Regions from separate parts of the Homo sapiens genome. Here region 2 is linked to region 1. The links are contacts of gene promoters, found by promoter capture Hi-C in blood cells and fetal thymus (Javierre and others, 2016). All regions are on one chromosome and are shown on one strand. Each heading gives the region's core, a stretch centred on a gene start or on the middle of the fragment in contact. The rest is flanking DNA. Distances are from core to core; before and after follow the strand shown. Region 1 holds the start of FPR3 (formyl peptide receptor 3). Region 2 holds the start of SIGLEC7 (sialic acid binding Ig like lectin 7).

The links. Contacts are between HindIII fragments. The CHiCAGO score rates a contact against its expected background, and 5 or more counts as called.
Region 2: a contact is called between the fragment with the promoter of SIGLEC7 here and the fragment with the promoter of FPR3 in region 1, in 12 of 17 cell types (neutrophils, M0 macrophages, M2 macrophages and 9 more). The highest score is 22.8, in neutrophils.

What each region holds. Positions count from the first base shown.
Region 1 is chr19:51,791,731-51,797,257 of GRCh38, forward strand. It overlaps FPR3 (formyl peptide receptor 3), which reads left to right and starts at 3,427. Exons shown (of 2, transcript NM_002030.5): 1 at 3,427-3,601. The HindIII fragment of the contact is 12,110 bases long and covers 1-5,527 here.
Region 2 is chr19:51,139,322-51,144,848 of GRCh38, forward strand. SIGLEC7 (sialic acid binding Ig like lectin 7) reads left to right here and starts at 2,980. Exons shown (of 7, transcript NM_014385.4): 1 at 2,980-3,481; 2 at 5,085-5,363. The coding sequence starts at 3,049. It overlaps LOC124904749 (a long non-coding RNA gene), which reads right to left and starts at 1,189. Exons shown (of 3, transcript XR_007067310.1): 1 at 1,103-1,189. The HindIII fragment of the contact is 9,764 bases long and covers 952-5,527 here.

The sequences.
Region 1 (5,527 bases), core at 2,177-4,676:
CAGTCTCCAAGGCTGGTCTACTCAGCCTGGACAATCTGTCTCTAAGCTACGCCTCTTCTTGATCACACTATTCCTGCCCTGGGTAGCTCTTCAAGAACCTTACCTTGATTTCTGGCAACATTCTCCATTCTAATATCTCTGTCTCCAATTAGAAACATTCTCAAAGGCATCCCTTTGCAGGACTACAGAACAATATTTTTCAGAAGCACACACCTGACAAGTCACTGTCCTGCTTAAATGGTTATTCATGTTATTATGAAGAAATTCCAAGTCCTTCTTGTAGCATTCAGGACCCTCCAACAGATGGCTTCTGCCACTTGCTACACACTCAGTGTTTATTGCTGTCTGCCTCACCATCTATGCTCCAATAACCGCAGGTAACCTGCTATTTTTTGACCCTTTCCTGCGTGCTTTCACTCTCCTCTGCCTGGAATGTATTTTTTTTTGCTTCTTTATCTGAGTCTTTAAGATTCATCCCGGATGTTATCTGCATTGCACTTGGAAGTGACCCTGGACCCTGTCAGTCTCAGTTAGTTGTTCCTTTTGGGAAATCTCATAATGAACCAGGCATCTGTCTATCACTATATACCCCCACTCTACTGTGACTGCTTAGGGAAATGGCAGAGGACACCATTGTGCACAAAGGGTGCATAAGACTATGCTTAGTCACAGTAGAGTGACGCTGTCACCTCTTTACCTGGGTAGTCGGCATCTCCAGGGTAAGGCACATGTCTGTTTAAGCTCTATGTCTGCAGGAGCCAGCAAGGGAGCACCTCTTCAGAGGCCTCATGCAATACCCACCACCCTTTATTATACTGATAAGTAAATTCCATTTTAATCAGGTGGCAGGTAGCAATGTGCCACTGTCCTAGGAAAGCAATCATGATTGGCCTAAGCCAATATGAGCAACTTGTCTTTTTTTTTTTTTTTTTTTTTTTTGAGGTAAGGTATTGCTCATTGCCCAGGCTCGAGGGCAGTGGCATCATCATGGCTCACTGCAGCCTCAACTTCCCTGACAAAGCAGTCCTCCCACTTCACCTCCTGAGTAGCTGGAACTACAGGTCCACACCACCACACCCAGCTAATATTTTTTTGGTTTTAGAGATGGGGTCTCACTATGTTGCCCAGGCTGGTCTTGAACTCCTGAGCTCAAGCAATCTTCCTGTCTTGGCCTCCCCAAATTCTGGCATTACAGGCGTGAGCCACTGTCCCTGACCTTTATTTTTATGTATCGGTATTTTTGTTATTTCTTGGCCATTGATTGGTCTAGAGATGGCATGCTCTGGCAATGAAAGACAAGGAGAGGTCCTGAAGAGACTCTGGACAAGGTTTCCCTCTGTAATAAAATGGAAGAGGCATGTGAATGAGTCACATTTTCTGCCTGTCTCATGATTCTGGCTCGGGAGGGCCTGTTGATGCAATGTCCAGAACAGTGGCAGCCATTCTGTGGTCACTTTCAAGAAAGCCCTAGAAGAAAACCAATATGATGATGGAGTGGAAGGGTGACATTAAACTCAATTTTTGTTCAAACTCCAGATCTATCCCCTTCCAAAACTTTTTTTAATAATAAATTTCTCCATGGCTTATGTGCTTCATTGGTTTACTCTACCTTATCACTGAAAACATCCAGTGAATCAGAGAGAAAATAGAAAATAGTTGACTCTTGTTTTGTGGCTCTCCACTGTTTTTCATGGTTCTATTCCTTGGGCTTGAGAACAACATTCTGATGGTGTTTAAAAACTCAGAAAGAGCCCATCTCCTTAGATCAGTAGTCCATAGAGCATCTCCCTAGGGGCAGAAGGTTAGGGGGTTAATCTCGGCAATGGTGTGGAGTGTACAGTGTCTCTCATTTACCTTCCTTACCTCTCTACATGCTCCTAGTTACTGCTTCTCTTTGTAACTCTGAGGTATGAAATACCTCAAAGCATATTTGATTTTGTCACAGATTTCTGGCACAGGGCTCTTAAAACCCTTGGAATTCCCTGAGTGATAGGAGTATTATTTGTTATTCATAAACAGCCCCTTTTGATCATAGCTGAGTTTATGCTAAGGAGATCATGGCCTTAGGATGGGACTGGTCACCAGAAAGACCAAGGGATTAGAGGGTTGGAGCTGTCAGCCCCACCTACTGATCTCCAGGAAGGGGAGGCAGGGACTGGAGATTGAGTTCCATAAAAACTCTTGAACAATGAGATTTGATGAGCTTCCACATTGGTGAACACTCAGGAGTGCTGGGAGAGTGGCTGCCTGAAGAGAGCATGGAAGCTCCATGCACCACCCAACCCCTTCCCTGCCATATACCTGCCATATGCCTCTTTCCAATGGACTATTCCTGAGGTATATTCCTTATATAAAGCAACAGATGCAAACAAAGTGCTTTCCTGAGTTCTGTGTGCCATTCTAGCAATTTATTGGTGTCATTGGAACACCCAATTTATAGCCTGTCAGTCAGAAGTACAAGTAGCCACCTGGGACTTGCAACAGATGTCTGATCTGATCTGAGAACAGTTTGTGGGAGTGAGCCCTTTAGCTTTTCGGATCTGAGCTGAATCCAGGTAGACAGCATCATAACCGAATTTTTAATTGCAGGTGGCCCAGGTGGTGTCCCCAGAGAATTGGAGAATTTCTTGGTGTAGAGAAAAAGTATATTTGGTCAGAAGGATTGTGAAAGTAGAGAATCGAGTTTTTGTTTCACCGTGCATCTTTGTTTTTTTATTGTTTTTCCTCTCATTCTTCTCACCTTGGTAATTGTTTCTTTCATTTTCCTGAATCTCTGAAAAGAAAGGGCCTGGACTCTCAGATTTCTTGGCCTTTGATATTTGGAAGGATGAACTCCAGTCTCCCACAGAAGGCTAGAGGTGAAGGAACATTCAGACACATAAGTTTCCAAGATAAATCGTCTGAGAACATCTCCAAGGTGTCTTCTGGGAATGGTAAGAAACCCTGAGTTTGTGTCACTGGATTGATTCCAGCTCCATTGTCCCCGTGTCCTTCAACTAAGTCTCTGCTGAAGCCTGTTCTATAAAAACAGCAAGTAAGTGGTTTGGACTGACCTATTGTACTAGGTTCGACAAAGCAAACCAAATGGAGTCAGTCATACTAAAACTCCACATCACCAAACCAAAACTAATGTATCTGAACTTTTGAGAAATCAGGAGAGAGAGAAAATGGACAAATTCCTAAAACAGGCCAGTTTCAGTGGGCATGAACATGAAGTTCTGTCTGCTTTCATCTTTACAAAAAAAAAAAAAAAGCAATCTGTGGTAACTTGACTTCAATCAATCAGTTGTTCCTTATTGCTGTCTCTCTATTCCTGCTGCACAAAAAAAATGCAACATCCAGATGACCAATCAGGTTTTTGTTCTCTGTTTCTGCTTTCTTTAGCCCTCCTATCCCTGTAAAACCAACTTCCTTGGCTCTAACTATCAAAACACTCATTTTGTTTTATAGCATGACAGGCTGTCTGATTCCATCTTTATAACCAAAGCCAATTAAGATCTTAAAACCAAACATATAACTTCATCTTTTTACAAGTACTTAGAGCCTGAGTTGCTCCACAGGAATCCAGGAACTGGGCACAGGAAAAGGATCTAAGCTGGTGGTAAGTTGGGGTCTGAAAATTTTAAAGTTATTGTTGAAATGCCTGCTATATGACAGAGCCCTTCTAACTCTGGAGTAGCGTAGTCCAGTGAAGAATCCACTTCGTTAGTATGAAAACAATGTTAACTATTTCATTAACAGTGTTTAATTTGGTTACATGTTCCAGTAACATTCTTTTTTTTTTTTTTTTTTTTTTTTTTTTTGATGGAGTCTTGCGCTGTCACCCAGGCTGGAGTGCAGTGGCACAATCTCAGCCCACTGCAACCTCTGCCTCCCAGGTTCAAGCGATTCTCCTGCCTCAGCCTCCTGAGTAGCTGGGATTACAGGCACCTGCCACCACGCCTGGCTAATTTTTTGTATTTTTAGTAGAGACGGGGTTTCAATATGTTGGCCAGGCTGGTCTTCAACTCCTGACCTCGTGATCTGCCCACCTCGGCCTCCCAAAGTGCTGGGATTACAGGCGTGAGCCAATGTGACTGGCCAATTCTTTATCATATATGTAATTAAATAAAATTTATTACTAAAATAATTTCCCCAAAGGTGTTTTACTTTTTTAAAAACAGTGGCTACAAAAAAATTTTGAGTCCCATATGTAGCTAAAGTTAACACATTATATTTCTACTGGACATGTAGCATTGTAGAGATGTAGCATTGAAGGATCTTGATAGTCCTGTGGAGCTTACGTACTAGTGTGGAGGGTATTTAAGAGAGAAGATAAATGAACAAACAAATAAAGGAGAAAAGTATCTGGTGAGATAGGCTGTACCTGAGCATTCTGCTTTGCAGAGTGGGTGAGGTGGGATCTCTCTGAAATAATATTTGACCTGAAATATGAATATTCAGGATGAGCCAGGTGCAGGAAGCTCAAGACGAAGAGCACGGTAGGCAGAAGGAATAGAGAAAGCAGAAGCCCTGAGATGACAAAGAGCTGCAAGTTCAAGGAATTAGAGCCCAGTGGGTGGAGCCCAGTGTGTCTGATGAGAGTGCAGAGATGAGGTCTGAGGGATGCACAGGGCACATGTGGCAGTGGATAAGGGAACCTAGGATAAGGGAACCTAAGATAAGGGTAACTTAGAAGTCTGGAAGCCATCGGAAGGTATTGCGAATAACATCACCATCTTATTGGACCTTTTTAAAGCTCATTTGGTTTCTGTCTGGAGAATGGATCTTAGGGGAGGGGGCAGCAGGACCAGGAAAAAGCTATTTGCAAGGCTTGTGCAAATATCCAAGCCTGACAGGGCCATGGACACCGGTCGTGGAGATGGCAATGGCTCTGGCTGTGCATTCAGCATGTTCTGTAGATAGAATGAGTAAGACGTGGATGGCGTTGGGTGGTGAGGAAAAGAGAAATGAAAGGTGAGTTCTAGATCTGGAGCTTTAACAACTGAATATTTAATCTCCAAATAGATACAGAATATTGGAAGAGTGGCAGGTCTGGGAGGCAGAGAACATCAACAGTTTGGTAAAACCATGTGAGGTTTGGAGTCTATGGGACTCCCACGGGGAGAGGTTTTATCAGACTTGAGTGCCAGGGAGAGGCCACGGCTGATAATTTAGATGAAAAGACAGCATAATGGTTTAATCCCAGAGACTGGATGATATCATTTATAGAATGTGAGATACCCCAACATTTAGAGTCAAATTTAGAATAGAAAACACCGTAAATTGGACTAAAAAGAGGAAGAGAATCGAGCTGTAGAGACGACCAAGAGTGTATTGTGTGCACATATCTCTTGGATATATCTCATGGCATAGGAAAAATGTGTTTGAAAAGGGAGAAAGTGATCCAATGGGTCCTGTGTCATTGGGATATCAGGTCTTAAAAACTGAGAAGGACTCACTGGATTTGGCAGCCTGGGGGTCATAAGCATCCTTGGGAAAATGCATTAGGTGGAGTGCTAAGGACAGAAGTCAATGTGGAGTGGAT
Region 2 (5,527 bases), core at 1,730-4,229, 650 kb before region 1:
CCTCCCAAATCATTATACCTTCTAATACTATCACATGGGGATTCAAATTTCAACAAATGAATTTTGAGGTGACATATTCAGACCATAGCACTTGTCACTGTGGACCTTGATGTCTTCCTCTCCGAACTGTGGAAGTGGGAGTAGAGGGCTTGTCAGCTCCCCTGGGTCATATGTGGTTCACAAGTTCCTCCTTTCTACAGATTCTGTGGCTTCCTTAAGTCTCTCCTTCCCATTTTTTTTTCTGATTTTAATTGCAAACTGGGGACTGTGGGAAAGAGATGGGCCATGGTCTAGCCCTTCTGAGGCAGGAGGAGCATAGACCAATGGGGCAGGAGCATAGCAAAGAGAATTAAAAGTTGGATAAAGGGCAGAATAAGTAAAAGCAGAGAGCAGAAGCAAGGTGAGGGGACGGGTGAGCAAGAAGCAAGAGGCAGAAGTTGAGCAGCCAAAACAAAAAGTAAGATAGAGAAGTGAGCAAGGACACCCGTGGCCAGCAGGATCTGGACCAAACCAGTAAGGGGCAGTTCTTCAGAGCTATGCATGTGCATTAGAGAGAAAAAGTATCCTTAACATGACCCTGTATGATAATCAGCTCATTAAAGTTCATGCATATGGACTGCATATTATCCATGTACTTAAAATTATGGGATGGGTCAAAGTAACTAAGCAACATACTTAACCATCAAAAAGGCAGGCACTGGCCAGGCGCGGTGGCTCACGCCTGTAATCCCAGCACTTTGGGAGGCCAAGGTGGGCGGATCACTTGAGGTCAGGAATTCAGGACCAGCCTGGCCAACCTGGTGAAACCCCATCTCTACTAAAAATACAAAAATTAGCCAGGCATGGTGGCGGGCGCCTGTAGTCCCAGCTACCAGGGAGGCAGAGGCAGAAGAATCGCTTCAACCCAAAAGGTTGAGGTTGCAGTGAGCCAAGATTGTGCCACTGCACTCAAGCTTGGGTGACTTCGTCCCCACCTCACCACCACCCCTTCCCCCCGAAAAAAGGCAGACACTGGATAGAGATTTGGCAGCCTTGGGAAGCGAAGAAAAACAAAAAAACAAACAAACAAACATAAAAAGACCCAAAGTAATGCTGATCTCACCTCATAGAGATCAGTTCGCTCTCCCTCTCCAAGAGTGTGATACTGTGCTTAATAAACTGCTGCTTCTTGCTTTGCTGTCTGTGTGTGTCTCATCCAATTCTTTGTTTAAGACACCAAGAGCCTGGAACTGCATGGCACCATCCGGTAACACTTCTGCCCACTGAGATACTGCAAATATCCTTATGGGGAGAGAGTGGCTGGGCAAGGAGGAGGCGCCCAGGAGGCAGATTGGTCTGCAGGATGAGATACTAGCTGCAAATGCAGGGATTGGAGGTGAGGGCGGGGAGTGGCTTCGGACGCCCAAACCCAGCATCTTCCTCTCTCAATCGTTACAGCCAAATGATCTCTAGGTTATGGACAATTAGGGGACAGTGTGGGCTGAGCAGATCAATGCAGTTGTATGGAAGAAAACAGACTGGGATTTTCTATGTATACAACATCTTCAGGAAAACCTACGTGAAGTTAGAATTTTCAAGGCAGCATGTGCCGATGATAAAACTACATAGAACAGCAGGAAGACTATTATCATTAAAGTGAGGCTAGGGGCTCCTTCAGGAGGGAGCGGGGGCATGGCCAATAGGAAAGGGGAATGTAAGGGTGAATGAATTAATAAAATCTCTTTCTTCATTTCAAGGGACAGACTTGACAGTTCTTTTGTGTTCTAGTTCTTCAAGGGTGCTTATTTTGTGTGAATCACTGAGTTGGTTTTTAGGGGACACTTTTATGTACATGTCTTGTGTTTCTCCCCGCTCAAAAAAAACTGTTTCAAGAAAAGCTGGCCTGGATCTAAGGGGGCTGCAGCTTGCAGGATTTTTCCCACTTCCTCCCAGCCCAGTCACACAGTTTAAAATAATCTTCTGTTGAAGTCAGGTGCGTGTTTCTTCTCTCAGAAAATCGCGCCCATCACTGAGGGTGGACGCCCCGGGGCTGGTGTCTTTGCTCCACGTCTCCTGTTCACCTGAACCCCTAGGAGCAGTTCCTGCAGGAGCAAAGCCCCAGGGCCAGCAGACCCCTCACACTCTGCACTAACCAGGCCTCATGAGATAGCAGTGGTGAAGGGAAATGTCCTTGTGCTCAGAGAGCTGTGAGGATGGGAATAGTGTCTGCTCTTTTCATATTGATCCTTTCCCTTATGACTTTCCTGTCTACCAAGCCCCACAATACAACAATCACAGCCTCAGCTTCCCCGGCCTCCTGCAGGCTGGGCTCCCCTCCGTGTCCTTGGCGTGTATCAACAGGCGCAATCCTCACCTTCACAGCCCCATGTCCGTCTGCTCGGTCCTCCTGAGACTGAACCCCCGACCTAGGGGAGAGTGACCCCACCCTGCCTGTGCCCCCCACTGAAGCTCCTGTCATGGGGAGCTCAAACGTCAGGAGACTCAGTGTCTCCCCACCACACAGTGACTCCTTGGGGACAGTGTCCGGCTCTGCTGTGTTGACCTCATTGTGCAGAAAGGGGGTGCCCACCTCGTGGCTGCTGAGGGAGGGATGAGAGGCTGCCTGTTCACCCCACCTGCACCCCTGTCTCTCATGGCCCCGAGTCCCACTTCTGAGCTACGCAGACATCCACAGCCTGTGACTCAGGGGTCTGGGCAGATGGGAGTTATTTTCACCCTGCAGAAAATATCACCTAAAGGGAAAGGCATTGAGAGGGAGGCAGGAGGTGGGGTGGGCCCTGCATGGGGTGGGAATCTGGGTGAGTCTGTCTCCCGCTCTGGCCTCAGGGACCCAGGAGTGAATGTCGGGTGGTGGACGGTGGATCTCCCAGGGCTGACCCAGCCCTGACAGTGTCTGTGTGTGAAGTTCTTCTTCTAAGGAGGTCACTGTTTTGACCTCACCACCGACTTCCTGTAGGGCCTCTTCTAAGTCTTGAGCCCGCAGTTCCTGAGAGAAGAACCCTGAGGAACAGACGTTCCCTCGCGGCCCTGGCACCTCCAACCCCAGATATGCTGCTGCTGCTGCTGCTGCCCCTGCTCTGGGGGAGGGAGAGGGTGGAAGGACAGAAGAGTAACCGGAAGGATTACTCGCTGACGATGCAGAGTTCCGTGACCGTGCAAGAGGGCATGTGTGTCCATGTGCGCTGCTCCTTCTCCTACCCAGTGGACAGCCAGACTGACTCTGACCCAGTTCATGGCTACTGGTTCCGGGCAGGGAATGATATAAGCTGGAAGGCTCCAGTGGCCACAAACAACCCAGCTTGGGCAGTGCAGGAGGAAACTCGGGACCGATTCCACCTCCTTGGGGACCCACAGACCAAAAATTGCACCCTGAGCATCAGAGATGCCAGAATGAGTGATGCGGGGAGATACTTCTTTCGTATGGAGAAAGGAAATATAAAATGGAATTATAAATATGACCAGCTCTCTGTGAACGTGACAGGTAAGGCACGGGCTCCAAGAGAGGCCAAAGGCAAATGTGATGAGGGCTTTAGGGCACGGCTGAGACGGGACACATGTCCTGGGAGGGGGCCGGGGGTGATGGACTCAGGAGAGGAGCTGGACCAGAGCCTGAGCTTCCCCAGGACCGCACCTTGGATGCCCCTCCTGATCCTGCAGGCCCCTCCCCTCACCAGCCCTGACCCACAGGCCTGACATCCTCATCCTGCCTCTGACGCTGGCATTGTGGCATGTGGGGCCTTATGACTCCTTGTTTTGGGGCCTGTCCTAGGCATGGCCGGGGTTTAGCACCATCCCAGGCCTCTCCCCACCAGATGCCAGAAGCACCCACTCCACCCATGCAGTGAGACAATAACAATTATCTCCACACATTGTTAAACGTCCTGGGGGGTTAAGTCCTCCCCAGTTGAGAGCCTTAGGTCTACACAACCCCGTGACTCTCTCAGGCCAGGCCAGGGAGGAAGCACTTCCTGGCGCAAACCAAGGGCAGCAGAGGCACCTGAGCCTGGACAGGGAGACTCAGCACACGGCCCCTCCATCTCTCATGCCCTGAGGTCCTCGGAGATCCACATTTAGATGCTCAAAAGACAGGAGGGACCTCCACGATGGTCCAGAGGCCGGGAGGGCAGGACCTACGTGTCTGGTGCAGGCCCTGGTGCTCCAGGGAAGCCCGGAGGTAGGAGGTGGGACACGGTCTCTTCTCCTCCCTGGGTGGGTCTCTAGGGTCTCTGAGCTTCAGGGTTTCCTTCACTCTGTGCAGAGGGAACCAGTTCCTATAGCATGTGGGTTTGTAGTTTCTCTTTCGTGCTGGGTTGAGGTCTCCAGCTCCTCTCCAGCCCCTCTCCAGCCCCCTGTGGGTCCCACAGCCCTGCCCCTCCTCTCCCTCCCACTTCTCTGCTCACACAAGGAGCCCAGGAACCCTCTGTCTCAGAGATGCTGCTGCCTCTCTTGTGGGCAAATGAAGAGAGGGACAGTCGGGGCTGGGCTGAGCCTCATTTCCCCACAGCGTCCCAGGCCCCACTGTCAAGATACAGGCTGGAGGTGCTGGAGTTGGTGATGGTGCAGGAGGGCTAGTGCGTCTCTGTGCCCTGCAGTGTCCTTTAACCCTATTACAACTGAACTGACTCTAGCCCTGTCCATGGATGCTGGTTTAAGAAAGGGATCAATATACAATGGAATAATCCAGTGGCCACAAACATCCCAAATGGAAAAGTGCAGGAGACACGGGGCCGATTCCACCTCCTTGGGGACCTGAAGACCAACAACTGCTCCCTGAGCATCAGAGATGCCAGGAAGGGGGATTTGAGGAACTACTACTTCCAGGTGGAGAGAGGACAGATAAGATGGAATTACAAAACGAAGCAGCTCTCTGTGAATGTGACAGATAAGGCACAGGCTCCAGGAGACACCACAGGGAAAGGTCATGGGGGTGGCAGCGAAAGCCTGGGATGGGGCCCCTGCCCTGGGAGAGGGCTGAGGGTGAAGCGAGTTGGGCTCAGGGCAGAAGCTGAACCAGAGCCTGAGCTTCCCCCAGGGCTGTACCATGGATCCTCTGTCCTGATCCTGAGTCCCCCTCTCTTCACCAGCCTTGACCCACAGGCCCAACATCCTTATCCCCGGTACCCTGGAGTCTGGCTGCTTCCAGAATCTGACCTGCTCTGTGCCCTGGGCCTGTGAGCAGGGGACGCCCCCTATGATCTCCTGGATGGGGACCTCTGTGTCCCCCCTGCACCCCTCCACCACCCGCTCCTCAGTGCTCACCCTCATCCCACAGCCCCAGCACCACGGCACCAGCCTCACCTGTCAGGTGACCTTGCCTGGGGCCGGCGTGACCACGAACAGGACCATCCAACTCAATGTGTCCTGTGAGTGCTGAGCCAGGACGCCCTGGTCCCTGATGAGGGGGGGACGTCCCTGAGGGCAGAGGATGGGGTCAGGGCTCGACACTGGGTGCTGGGTCCCAGAATCTGGGCTGGTTGTGGGATCAGGAGGACGCTGGCTCCGCCTTCCCCATTTATGCAGCTCCTGG